3 separate regions of the Homo sapiens genome follow, and regions 1 and 3 are each linked to region 2. Evidence: promoter capture Hi-C in 16 types of primary human blood cells and fetal thymus (Javierre and others, 2016). All regions are on one chromosome and are shown on one strand. Each heading gives the region's core, a stretch centred on a gene start or on the middle of the fragment in contact. The rest is flanking DNA. Distances are from core to core; before and after follow the strand shown. Region 1 overlaps LOC124906112 (a long non-coding RNA gene). Region 2 holds the start of KCTD18 (potassium channel tetramerization domain containing 18). Region 3 overlaps TYW5 (tRNA-yW synthesizing protein 5).

Region 1 (4,360 bases), core at 1,712-4,211, 540 kb after region 2:
TTTTCAAATTCATCGCCCTAAAAAAAAAAAAAAAAAAGACTCCTTGGAGAAATGGCTGATTCCAGCTCTGAGGCAGGAAATGGACAAGAAGATCCTGAAATGTATTGTTACATTGGAAAACACAGGCGCACTCAAAGACTAACAACAGAGTCATGTTCATCTTTAATCTGTCACACAGACAGATTACAAGGACTCCTGCTGGCAAAACTGGGGCATATTTAGGCATCAACAAGAATAATAACTATAATTGATACTACATTGGATGAATAAAAATCCATGAGTTTAGGCTGGGTGTGGTGGCTCATGTCTGTAATACCAGCACTTTGGAAGGCTGAGGTGGAAAGATCATTTGAGCACAGGGGTTCAAGGCTGCAGTGAGTATGATCCTGCCACTGCACTCCAGCTTAGGTGACAGAATGAGACTTCATCTAAAAAATGAAAGAATTCATGAGTTTCTAGTGATATTTAAGAAAAATGAAGGGATAGGGCTCTGTTGTATCAAAGAATGCCAATAGCAGGTATTATAGAATTAAAGAATAATCATTTGGCAAATTATAAGGTAACACTGATTCATATAAGGATCATCTTCTGTATTAATTTCTTGTTGCTTATGTAACAAACTACCACAATGTAGTGGCTTAAAACAACACAGATTTATTATTTTGCAGTTCTGGAGATCAAATGTCTAAAATGGGTCAGTGTGGCTGCGTTCCTTCTAGAGGCTCTGGGGAGAATCTGTTTCTTGCCATTTCTTGACTCTAGATGCTGTCCACATTCTATGGCTGTCATGGCCCCTCATAGTTCCAACCTCTGCTTCCATCATCACATGTCCTTCTCTCTGACGCTGACCCGCCTGCCTCCCTTTTATAAGGACATCTGTGATAACACTGGGTCCACCCACATAATCCAGCATAACCTCCCATCACAAAATCCTGAATTTAATCATACCTGCAAAGTCCTATTTTGCCAACTAACCCCTGGAACACATGTTCACGTGTTCCAGAGGTTAGTATGTGGGCATCTTGTGAGCAGAATATTTACCAGGTATCAAAGTATCATCTCACAGATTACTTATTAACTATAAAGAGAAAAAAATGACTTTTACAACTGAGGGTTCTCATAATCACCACTCTAAACAATGGAACAATAAGAAATTAGGTACTGCCTGACGTTATATAATAGGAGGTCCGCAAATCACTTATATATTCTTGCCAAAAATGTTTCACCTGAATCTAATCAACTCTTTCGCCCTAACTTCCAGCTTACAGAAATGATGCCATAGAAAAACAAGCACATTCAAGATATGGGACATGCTGTGTGTCTACCATTCTAGACTTCTCCAAATTGCAGTGCCATAAATGAGGATGGGGATATTCTAAATTTTGAAACAAGGACTAAAGAGACATAACCAAATGCAACGGGTAAACCTTGACTGGATCTTGAATTAAAAAGTCATTTTAAAGACAACTGGTGAAATTTTAAATTTAAGTATTAGCTGATACTATGGAATTATTGCTAATGTACATGTGGTTATATAGGATAGTGTCCTTATCCTTTGGAAACACATATTGAAATATTAGGGTTGAAATATTAATACATGATGTCTGAAGCTTACTTTCAAATGCTTTCAATGAAAATATTTGGTCAAACACTATTCTAGATGTTTCTGTGAAAGTAGTTTTTGATGAGATTAACATTTAAACCACTATACGAATGTTAAATTTCTCTATATATGTTTCCATAGTTATCTATGTTTCTCTCTCTCTCCATAGATATGAGATAGATAAATATAAGTTTTGTTTCTCTGGGGAACTCTAATACAATACCCTTCTTTCAACTTTTCAGTATGTTTGAAATTTTTTCTAATGAAAAGTTAGGGAAAAAATTTAATTCAGATAATTTTTTAAAAACATTCAGGAGTTTTTAAAAACATTTTCCTGATCTAGCCAATGCTGACATTCAGGAGTTAAGTGCGTTATTTTGTAGCTCATAGCTATTCTTCTAGGAGAGAAAATTAGTCTTAATGGAGAATAGTCTGAGGAGCCTAGCCAACTAAAAATAAGCATCACCTGTTAGTTTGCAAATATTTTTGAGAATTTATTGTCTTAGTGGCTATGCTCAGTCCTGGGAAAAGAGTGGTAAGCCACCCAGAAGTAGTCCTTTCTAACTTCTTCCTGTGTCACTGTGTGTCCCATACTTGGCAAGCCAAGTTCATTTGGGTCAAAGTAGAACACATCTAACTAGTTCTTGATTTTAAGAGAATCTACAGGTTTTCTGATCAGGGAGCCTGTATTGATGATATAGCCACTTCGGTGAAAGCCAACAGTGACAGCTTCATATTTCAAAAGTCAGACAACTCCAGTGAACATGATATAAACTCTTTTCTTCCTCTGTTTGTTCCTCTGTGTGGTGTTCCTCACACCAACACAGAACACATTTAGAAAGCTTATTTAAAAACATGTCAAGTTCTCAGAGAGAGAAGAAGAATGGTTACCAGAGGCTGGGAAGGGAAATGGAGGTGGGGTGGGGGAGTGGGGATGGGGATGGTTAATGAGTACAAAAAAACTAGTTGGAAAGAATTAATAAGAGTTACTATTTGATAGCACAACAGGGTGACTATAGTCAATAATAATTGTACATTTTAAATAACAAAAAGCACATGATTGGATTGTTTGTAACACAAAGAATAAATGCTTGAGGGGATGGGTACCCCATTCTCCATGATGTGATTATTACACATTGCATACTTATTTCAAAACATCCCATGTACGTGCACCCCATAAATATATAACCCTACTATGTACCCACAAAAATTAAAAATAAAAAAATTTAAAAATAAGAAAATAAGTTCTGCTTTGGCCATAATAAACATTTATCCTGATGCCTTAAACACTAGACAACTCAGCAGATTACATGAAACTACTGTGCTCAAACACTGGACAGTAGGAAGCACAGTATTTTTATCTATGAAAGAAGAGAAACGAACAAGGCAGATCCTATGATAACCCAGATTTCTGTGTGGGGCACTTTCTAGACCACCCAGCCAGGGAAAAAAATCCCCAGCAAAACATGATAAACTTGCTGAATTGAGGAGACAGACATGGAAGGCCATGGAGTCTGAAGAGGCCAGAGGTGTAAGGCAAATGTTCAGACAGGAGCAAGCTATGCGGAACAAAACTTCAGAAGTTTGTATAGTAATTTCCTTGAGTTTTTAGTGAACTCTAAGCTATGAACAAAAGCTATAGAGTGAGACTCTATAAAGTCAAGCAAAGAGTGACTAGAAGCTGTGAAGTGAACAGTTCTCAGAGAGCCTGTAGTGCTGGGAATTCATTTGGGTTCCCTAAGCCAGCATGGAGAGTGCTGTCCTGTTTGATAACTCAGGGCATCCAGTAGAGACCCCATAAATTACTCCATACAAATGGGGCTACACTCTTGGTAGAGTAAAAACTAGTCTAGATAAACCCTAACAAAGCTTAACAATAGCCTCAAAAAAATCAACCTGAACCCCAAATAACCTAACTGGCTACCTAAGAGAACACAGTTCAACATTCTTCTCAAGGCAAATACTACCCAATGATACCCAGATATTCAATGACAGAAAATTCATAAATTCAGTGTCCAATAAAAAATTACTAGACCAGGCCAGGCCTGGTGGCTCACACCTGTAATCCCAGCACTTTGGGAGGCCAAGGCAGGAGGATTGCTCGGTCCAAGAGTTCAAGACCAGTCTGGGCAAAATAGTGAGAACTTGTCCCTATTTATTTTTTAAAAATTACTAGACCAGCCAAAAGCAGGAAAATGTGGCCCATAACCAAAAGAAAAATCACTTACTAGAAAGAGATTTTAAAGAAAGACAACTTTAAAACAACTGTTGGGCCAGGCAGAGTGACTCACACCTGTAATCCCAGCACTTTGGGAGGCAGAGGCAGGCAGATCACTTTAGCTAGAAGTTTGAGGCCAGCCTGGGCAATATAAGGAGACCCCATCTCTACAAAATCTACAATAATTAGCTGGACATGGTGGCATGCACCTTAGTCCCAGCTACTTGGGAGGCTGAGGTCGGAGGATCACTTGAGCCTGGGAAGCAGAGGTTGCAGTGAGCCAAGATCACACCACTGCACTACAGCCTAGGCAACAGAATGAAACCCTGTCTCAAAACAAACAAACAAACAAACAAAAAGCTGTTATAACTATGCCCAGCAAGTTAAAGGAAAACATGAACATAGAGAAGCTATGAGAAAGAATCAAATGGAACATGTAGACATGAAAACTAACACATCTGAAATAAAGCTGACATAATTCCACTCCCACCTTTCACTAACACAACACACTCTTCCTCAAAAATCCCTGTAAGATCAAT
Region 2 (4,478 bases), core at 1,770-4,269:
CATTTCCATCAGCATAACCTGCTGGAATGACTCTCATCCTAAAATTCCTTTTCTTGACTCTTATCCCACCTTCACTACAGCTTCACTTCTCTACTTCTATTTACAACAAAGTCTTCTCTAAAGGGTTACATCCAGCCTTCCATCTCCCATTCACTCTCCAGCCCATTTTTGGCTGGTTTGCGTCCTCACCACAACATTGAAACTGCTCTTGTCAAGGTCACCTAGAACTCCCACAATACCAAATATGATGGACCCTTGATTTCTCAGTGGCATTTGACATGAATGACACTTTGCTCTCTTGGTTCCTGTAACTCCATACGCTCCTGACTCCCCTCCTTCCTCTTGGCTCTTCCTTGTAAGCCTGACTTCTAAATGCTGAAGTCAATGCTTCATGTTGTCTCTTCTCATTTATCTGCCCTTTCTGCAGATGGTTTCATTCACTCTCATAGCTTTAAATGCTTATGCTTTCCAAATATCCACCTTCAACACAGAATTTTACCCCTGAGCTCCAGATTTATTCAATTGCTAATTGATCTCTCTACCTGAATGTCTGAAAAGCATCTGAATCTTAGTAGTCCAAAACACAGCTTCTGATTTCTTCCCTCAAACCTATTCCTCTCCCATAATTCACTGACTCGGTAAACTCACTATTATCCCATTGTTCAAATTAACAATTTAGAGATATTCCTACATTTTTCCCTTTCCCTTAAATCCCATATATTGCAGCCATGAAAATGCACTTCTCAGATCTCCAATTGCAGGGAGCATTGTTGACTGATGCCTCAGCTGCTGTCCTTTGAAATTTATCACCAGGCTGCACTGCCCACTGACTGCTCCCAGCCAGTGACTGAGCAGAGGGATTTAAGGCAGGCCCATTCCTGGGAGACACAGAACTCTTCTGATATGGGGGACTTTGGCTTGAAGGCTTTCCACTGGCTGTGCTGAAACTTTCTCAGAACTGTATCATATCTACAACTTTTCCTACTTTTCCTTTCCTGTTCTCCACAAGGGTTGAAACTGTCTAATGTCTTTCCTAATTCCCCTCAGATGCTTCCCTGTTATTACCTCACAGGTGTTCCCTTCAATAAATCTCTCACATGTCTAATCTGATAATATTGTTTGCTTCTCAGGGGATCCATATTAACACATTGTATTTGATCCACCAACAAATTTTATGTCATGTCTATCTCCTGAGTACCCCTCTTGCATCCATCCACTTCTCTTTATTGCCAACACTACTCAAGGAGGAACTAAGACATTTCTCCCCTGGATTATTGCAATAGTCATCTACTTCCATCTCACACCTTTCCAATCCATTCTCATCTCAGTAGCTGCAGTGATTATTTTTTTTTAATAGTAAATCAATTGTGTCACTTCCCTGCTTAAAACCTTTCAATAGCTTCTCATTATGCTTACAGTCAAATTAAATTTCTACCATGGCCACACAATACTTTAGAGTCTGGGCTCTTGCCTCTCTCTTCAACCTCATCCCATCTCATCTTCCCCTTTGTCCTGATGCCCACCAAGGCTCAGACATACTAGTGGCCTTTCTCTTCCTACAAATTGCTGAGTCCTTTCCTGCCTGAGGGGCTTCCGACTTGCTCTCCCTTCTTCCTAAAATACCCTTCCTCCATCTCTGCAGAAGGTGGACTCATTCTGACTCCTAGCCCTCAACTTAAATGTCCACTCATTTCCTCGCACCTAGTTATCACTCTCTGTCACCACTTTGCTTAGTGTCTGTTTCTCCCACTTGAACAAGGGCAGGCAAACTATGGCCCATGGACCACCATTTGTTTTTGTCTGGCCCATGATCTAAGAATGGCTTGTACATATTTAAGTGTTTGAAAAAGCTGCATTTTTAAAAGAATATTTTTTGACACATGAAAATTATGTGAAATTGGAATTTCAGTGTCCATAAAGTTGGAACTAGCAATGCTCATTTGTTCAGGTTTTGCCTATGCCTTCTTTTAGACTACAACTGCTGAGTTGAGTAGTTGTGCATGGCCCACAAAGCCTAAAATATTTACAGAACAAGTTTTCTGCATGTTGTACTGGAAAGTAAGGTTGAACGCCCATTATTTGTCTCTTCCAGTCCTTTACTCTCAGTGCTTGCTCCATAGCTAGTGCTTAATAATTACAGGTTGAACAAACCTTCCCTCTCTCCTAAGACTGTTAATATCTAAGGGGATAGGTTGACTTACCTCTCTTTGGCTTATTCTCTTCTAAGAGCCAGTCAGGGAAATTTGGAACCAAATATTTTTGATTTTGGGGAAGCACCTTGAAAACAGGACTGTTATATTTCTCTTGAAATATCTAGCACAGTACCTTGCACAAGGTAAGATGGTGCTAGAAACTGGAAGAACTGTTTTAGGGTTATCGTTAACAGGAAATTAAGTAGTGCATGCAAAGCACTTAGCACAGTGTCAGGTGTACAAAAGTGTTGAATAAATGTTTGCTCTCGCCTCAATTTTCCTTGCTATAATGGGAAATAAATATCACCCTTTATATCACTGTCACACAGACTAAACAAGAATGCTGTGTGTGAAAAAGCTTTGTAAGCTGCAGACACTATCCAGATAGACTTATCCAAGTGCAATATATTAACACACGTTGGCACTGAGCAGCCCTGTTTGGAGGGATGGGCACTGACCTGGGGGTGAGAACACTTAACATCCTAATTCTTGCCACTTATTAAGTGACCTTGGACAATCGCAACTTCTGCGGCTGTTTCTTCTCTTCACCTGTAAAACCAGCCTCTGAACACACAAGACCGTCCCTTGGGGTTCAGCCCTGGCCTTCTCTACCGTGTGTTTCCCTTACCTCCGGGATGGAAGACCCACCCGACTCCGAGGCGGCCCACTGGGGCGAGACGAATCTGGGGGCGGGGCGTGGCGTGGCGTGGCGTGCCCGGGACGTGGCCTCCCTCCCTCCCTGAGCCGCTGCCTCAGAGCCGGGCCGCACGGGGGCGCCGCTGGGGCCGCTCTGCTCCCGAGTTGCCGAGCAGCTGAGAAGGCGTTCACTTCCGCGTCCGCCCCGCGGCGTCCGGCGGCCGCGCCGAGGGTCTGGCGGGCCGCAGGTCAGTCTGGGAAGCTGCCGACCCGCCCCACCCCCCCGGTGCGGAAGAGCCGGGCGCGGGATGGGCCGCGGGCCCGGAAGGCGGCGGGGCGCCCTGAGGAAGGGCACGGGCCGCGCTGGTAACGCGCGCGCCCCGGGCTGCAGGCTCGGGCTTCGGGCCGATTTGGGGTCTCCAGGCCGCGGAAGACCGTGGCGGGGCTTTCTGGCTCCCCAGCTCCTCCCGGCTCTTCCCGCTTCGGAAGAGGAGTGTGAGCCCCTTGAGCGATGTTTTTCAAAGTGGGGTTCGCGGGCAGATCCCGACCCCTCCTCAGACTTTCTGAGGAACTGTGTGCTGTGGCCGGAGTGTCTTCGTTTTCCCAAGCGTCCCTGATGGTTTTGATGCAGGTGATCATAGGAATGCACTCTGGGGGACATTGTCCCCGAGGGCTGGACACTTTCCACATAGCAGGGAGCCTAACTGGGTGCTTTTGAGGATGGGGCCTGCGGAGTGCCCCCCTGGTGTGGCCTTGGAATGATGATGTTCCTATCCTTAGGAGAGACTGCCTGGGGTTGGGGTAGGAGGAGTAGCTCTTAAATCCTCGGGATCGGGGTGCTGCTGTGTTATCGTAGCCAAGTCTTGAGATGGACAGATGCTTAGAGAGTGAAAGGGCTGGGTCAGGATCCATAGGGGTGAAACAGTGCTGGAGGAGGCGGTGTGGGGTGAAGCAGGAAGAACTTGGGGTTCGTCCTGCCGTTCTGGATTGGGGCTGGCTCCACAACCTACTAGCAGTCAGTCCTTGTGTGGCCCCTGTACACATCACTCTTTTTTTTTACCCCAATGGCCTCATCTGTCAACAGGGACAGTAATTCCCATCCAATAGAGTTTTTGTGTGAATTAGGTAAAGTGTGTCAAGTGTCTCTTACAATGGCTGGCACATAATAAGCATTCAGTAAATGGGAGTTATTAAGAGTGACACAGGCCCTGGCTTCCTTGGCCTACAGACCAAAAAGTAGGGATTAAACAAGTGGGGTAAAAAGTGGACAGACACACAGTATATTTGTAGAATTGTGCAAGGATTCTAACTTGGGGGGCAGAAGGATACGTGGGACGGTCATGCAAGAAATTAGGTTTGCTGAAGGCCTTGAAGAATAGATAGGATTCCAGGGAGCCAGTAATGAGGCAGAGGGAACAAGTTCCATCCCATGCCTCAGAGGTGGCTCTCACACATGGATCTTTGGAGTGCTGCTCCCAGGACTTCTAGGCAGTGCGAGATGTCACATCCATAAGTGGTTTTGGAAGGCTGGACCTTTGGCCCATAATGGTTTCTGTTGCTGACCGTATTCTACACACATGGTCTTCCTCAGATTTTAATGGTCTCCTTCCATTTTATTGGAGACTAGCTGGCATCTACAAAACGATCTTA
Region 3 (4,888 bases), core at 843-3,342, 570 kb after region 2:
GAACAGTTCTTTTCCAGTGTTTTTCGAATTAGTTCACCAGGATTACAACTATGGACTCATTATGATGTATGCTACATAAATGAGAAATTTAAAGCTACAATAGATCTTTAGCATTATAGATTTAACAGTCACAGTTTCAACTTCCTATAGGTTACCCTAAACATCTGTGTAATTTGCTGAAACATGACTTTTGAAAATAGGTGCTGTGCATAGCAGTGATACAGGAATGAATTATTTTGCTAATGGCAAAGCCTAGTTGGTTCCTCACATTTGTATTTCCCTGTGGTCCTATTCTTGATTCATCATCATATATATACCAAGTTTTGTGAAGTGATTTTTTTTTCCATGTGAAAAATGGCCACCAGATAATGGGGGAAATTGTATTGGAAAAAGTGATAAGCCTTTAGTATAAGGAGGTATAAATGATACACATGACTCTGGCTACCCAGAGATCCATAACTCTCTGGGTCATGCAAAGTTATGTTATTCAGGAAAAAGGCTGAAGCTTGTTGAGTCATTACCAATTGTAAGAATTTGGGGATATCTGAAGATCTTAGGATATATATGCCTTGAGAATGTCAAATATCTGCTGTATTTGTAGGGCAGCAAAAATGTGTACAATATTGATCTTGATCTGCTGGGCGCGGTGGCTCACACCTGTAATCCCAGCACTTTGGGAGGCCGAGGCGGGCGGATCATGAGGTCAGGAGATCGAGACCATCCTGGCTAACACGGTGAAACCCCGTACCTACTAAAAATACAAAAAATTAGCTGGGCATGGTGGCGGGTGCCTGTAGTCCCAGCTACTCCAGAGGCTTAGGCAGGAGAATGGCGTGAATCCAGGAGGCAGAGCTTGCAGTGAGCCGAGATCGCACCGTTGCACTCCAGCCTGGGCGACAGAACGAGACTCTGTCTCAAAAAAAAAAAAAATTGATCTTGATTATTTATGATGTTATTTTGTTTGCTTAAATTTATGTACACATCTATAAGCGTTTTAAAAACATTAAAAATACTAGTATGGTATATGGTTTGGTGTTGGGAAGTAGAGAAACTTAAGGAAGGTAAAGGAATATCTAACAAGTTTCCAAAGAAAAAAAAATTTTTAAGTTCTAAATCACAGTATAACATTTTATACATGTGTTTTGTAATTCAGTTGAGACCCTCTTGGGAGGATTTTACCATAGTCAGTAAATCTGTAATTATGAAATAGACATGAACTCTTAGCATATTTTACAGTTTTATATGAATAACATGGTGAGAAAATCATGTGGTAATACATTTTAACTATATTCTATGATGATGATGATGATGATTGTTGTTGTTGTTTTTTGAGACAGAGTCTTGCTCTTTCACCCAGGCTGGAGTGCAGTGGCACGATCCTGGCTCACTGCAACCAGTCCCTCCCAGATTCAAGTGATTCTCGTATCTCAGCTACCCAGATAGCTAGGATTACAGGCATGCACAACCACACCCGGCTAATTTTTTTTTTTTTATTTTTAGTATACATGGGGTTTTGCGACGTTGGCCAGGCTGGTCTCAAACTCCTGGCTTCAAGTAATCCGCCCACCTCGACCTCCCAAAGTACTAGGATTACAGGCATGAGCCACCATGCCTGGCCTCTATGATTATGTTTTAAATTTTGAGTAGTATCCCCTTTACCTTGAATTATAATAGAATGTAATATATAAAGCTTTTATTATAAATTAAGTCAGAGGAACGCTAGTTTGAATTGTATAGTTATGGTTTACATGAGTAAAGGGTTAGTACTAAAAGGAAGAATGCTTAGGTAGAAGTAAAAAATCATGAATATATCTTGCTTAGTGCTTATCTTAAATCCTTAGCTGAGAATTATGTGACTCTGCCTTTAACATTTTTTCACAATCTATACCAAGAAAGTATACCATTACATTCATGGGAAACGATTGCTCCAATAATAAATATATATTAAGAAAATCTGTCATAAATCACCATACTGTTTGCAGAAAAGGAAAAAAAAAGAAAATCTGTGAGATTATATTCCTATAGAAATAATTTGAAAATCAAGATACCTATAATGAAATTATGGTTGAACATATATTAAGAGTGTAGCAGCAGTTGCAACAGTACCTTGTATTTTCCTAGCATCTGATTTTTCTAAGTGCTTTTACTCTGTTGTCTAATTTTGGGCTTATAGCATTCCTTAACAGATAGTAAATATTAACCAAGGGGAGCCTTAAATAGGCTTAACTATGCTGTCAGTTAATGGTGAGGCAAAGGCAAATCGTTTTCTGACTCCACATTTTCTAATTTGCCAAGTCTTCCCATTTTAGGGCAGTACTGCAGAAATGTCTTGAAGGCCCAGTTGTATATGGAATACAAATGTTTTTATTGTTAGGTAACTGTAAGAGTCTTAAGTAAGTCAAGTCTCATTAAAGGATCGGGTTTGCAGTTAAAGTTTAGCATGCCATTGGTTCTATTTATTTGAATTTTAGATAATGATTACCCATAAGCTTTTATTGGTCTTCAGGTAATGGATAATTTGTTAATACAAGTGACAGGAAAAAAGCGTGTTGTACTCTTCAGTCCTCGAGATGCCCAGTATTTATATTTAAAAGGTATGGGATTTTTTTTAAGTTTATATTTCAAAAGTCTATTCAGTTACTCTTTTTGAGAAATCTCTTGATTCTTATAGGAAAAGAACACTTCAGTACTTAATCCTAATTGTATTTGTGTATATATGTAATAACAGGTTCAAATTTGAAATTATCTTATTACATGGGTATCAGTCATCAGAATTAAAGAGTGAGTCATTGAAAATTGTCTTAGGTGTCAGTAGCATAGTAATTCTCACAGTGTTGGTACAGTAAGTAACTGGATAGAAAAGAATAAATTTTCAAATTTATATTTGTGATTACTTTTTTTAAAATGCTAACTTTGCTGAATCTATATTATCCCTTTTTGGAACTTTTTAGGTACTAAATCAGAAGTACTGAATATAGATAACCCAGACTTGGCTAAATATCCACTTTTTTCCAAGGCTAGAAGATATGAATGTTCCCTTGAAGCTGGTGATGTATTATTCATTCCTGGTAAGATTTCTAGACCTCACTAATGTGCTATTTATAAAATGTGTACTCTGTCACTCATCCTTCATGTGATTTTTTTTTTTTAGTACAAATATATATTTGTTATATGTATCCGGTCCTATACAAGATGATTTTTAGACAAAACTCTGTGTGTGCGTGTGTGTGTATGTGTGTGTGTGTGTGTGTGTGTGTGTGTGTGTGTGTGTGTGTGTGTTTAAAGCAGGCCTAGGCAAACTTATTATAAGTTAACAGCCCTTGTAGTTTTGGCCTATAAGTTAACAGGTCTTGCACTTTTGGCCTCAAGCAATCCTCCCAACTTGAACTTTGGGAGGCCAAGGTGGGAGGATTGCTTGAGGCCAAAAGTGCAAGACCAGCATGGGCAACATAGCGAGACCCCGTCTCGACAAAAATAAATAAATAAATTTAGTCAGGCATGGTGGTGTGCATCTGTACGTCCCAGCTGCTCGGGAGGCTGAGGCAGAAGGATCTCTTGGGCCCACGAGGTTGAGGTTGAGGTTGAGGAGGTTGATGCCATGGCATCATGGAATCACTGTACTCCACTGTGAGCAACAGAGTAAGACCCTGTCTCTGAATAAACTAAATTAACAGTCTTGCTTTCAAGGGCAACCTATAAAAATAATATTATACTCTATTTTACTAAGTGACATCAAGTAAGACACATTTTTTATAGCTTTTATTTATTTATTTATTATTATTTTCAAAGTGGGACACTTTATATCTGGGAAAAGATTATACTTGTTCGTTTTCTAAATTATTTTTTAAAAATAATATACTCTATTAAATGACATCAAGTAAGACACTTTATATTTGGGAAAAGATTATACTGATTGGTTTTGTAAATTATTTTATTTTAAAAATATTTCTGTATTTTAGAACTGTGTCACTTAAATATTTACCAAAAAAAAATGATAAGTATCTTTCAAGGCCAAAACAGATGAAAGATTTCATATTAAAATGTTATAATCTCAACACCTGTAGTATCATTTGTGTACATTATTTTTCTATACAGTCTGGATTTGTGTCACTTAATTTCTTTGTTCAATTAATAGGCATTAGTTTGAAAGTCCATAAAGTTCAACACAGCAAGGTAATTAACATCTGTAATTAATACTTAAAAGTGAACTCTTGAAGATTATAAAAATCATAATTAAAATTAAAGGGATATATTAACAAATTCTATTTATAGTTGTAGTTCCATATTTAAATTAATCTATTAAGAATCATTAATACTTTTCACTGATAAAAATAAGTAAATATTAATAAAGATCCATATTTGATGACTTCTTTTGGGACTAGATTATAAATTCCTTGAAGACAACTATGTTTTGTTCATCTTTGTCTTCCCCAAAAGGGCCAGATATGATATAATGGCTTTCATATAATTGATAATTTATAAAAAGTTGACTTTTTATTCTTATTTTCATTGAAAGCAACGAACGTATTAGTCTTCAAATCTATTGCCATCTTTTAAATTTACACTTTTGGTTTTTGTATCTTGGGAGCATGATTAAGATCTATGTAGTTTTCCCTTATTCTTCATACAATTGTTTTAAGAAAAAAAAAAATACTGAACATTTGCATATATTTTTAAACAAAAGCAAAATTCCTGTCTTTGGGTTTAAATTCAGCTGAATGGTTAGCATTTTCTTCCTATTATATTGAATAAGGGAAAAAAAAGATTCTGAAAGAAAGTGTAGTTAAGATTAAAACCATGTTTGAAAATTAGTTTTCCAAATCAAAATGTTAAGCTTTTGTTTTTCCTTAAACACTCTTAGAATAAGTTTCTAAAATTTAAATCTCCC

Evidence for each region. The method cuts DNA at HindIII sites, captures the fragments that hold promoters and counts their contacts. A CHiCAGO score of 5 or more calls a contact.
Region 1: a fragment that was not itself captured here is called in contact with the fragment with the promoter of KCTD18 in region 2 in 9 of 17 cell types (endothelial precursors, total CD4 T cells, total CD8 T cells and 6 more); the score reaches 9.4 in endothelial precursors.
Region 3: a contact is called between a fragment that was not itself captured here and the fragment with the promoter of KCTD18 in region 2, in 1 of 17 cell types (monocytes). The highest score is 5.1, in monocytes.

Annotation. Positions count from the first base shown.
Region 1 is chr2:199,968,946-199,973,305 of GRCh38, reverse strand. LOC124906112 (a long non-coding RNA gene) reads left to right here. Exons shown (of 3, transcript XR_007088012.1): 3 at 1,262-2,709. Among named protein-coding and RNA genes, the nearest start is that of MAIP1, 16 kb to the right of the region's middle. The HindIII fragment of the contact is 1,027 bases long and covers 2,448-3,474 here.
Region 2 is chr2:200,508,609-200,513,086 of GRCh38, reverse strand. It overlaps KCTD18 (potassium channel tetramerization domain containing 18), which reads left to right and starts at 3,019. Exons shown (of 7, transcript NM_152387.4): 1 at 3,019-3,459. RefSeq lists a silencer at 2,787-3,246. The HindIII fragment of the contact is 2,465 bases long and covers 2,553-4,478 here.
Region 3 is chr2:199,934,111-199,938,998 of GRCh38, reverse strand. It overlaps TYW5 (tRNA-yW synthesizing protein 5), which reads left to right. Exons shown (of 8, transcript NM_001039693.3): 5 at 1-66; 6 at 2,507-2,594; 7 at 2,952-3,068. Among named protein-coding and RNA genes, the nearest start is that of TYW5, 19 kb to the left of the region's middle. The HindIII fragment of the contact is 799 bases long and covers 1,693-2,491 here.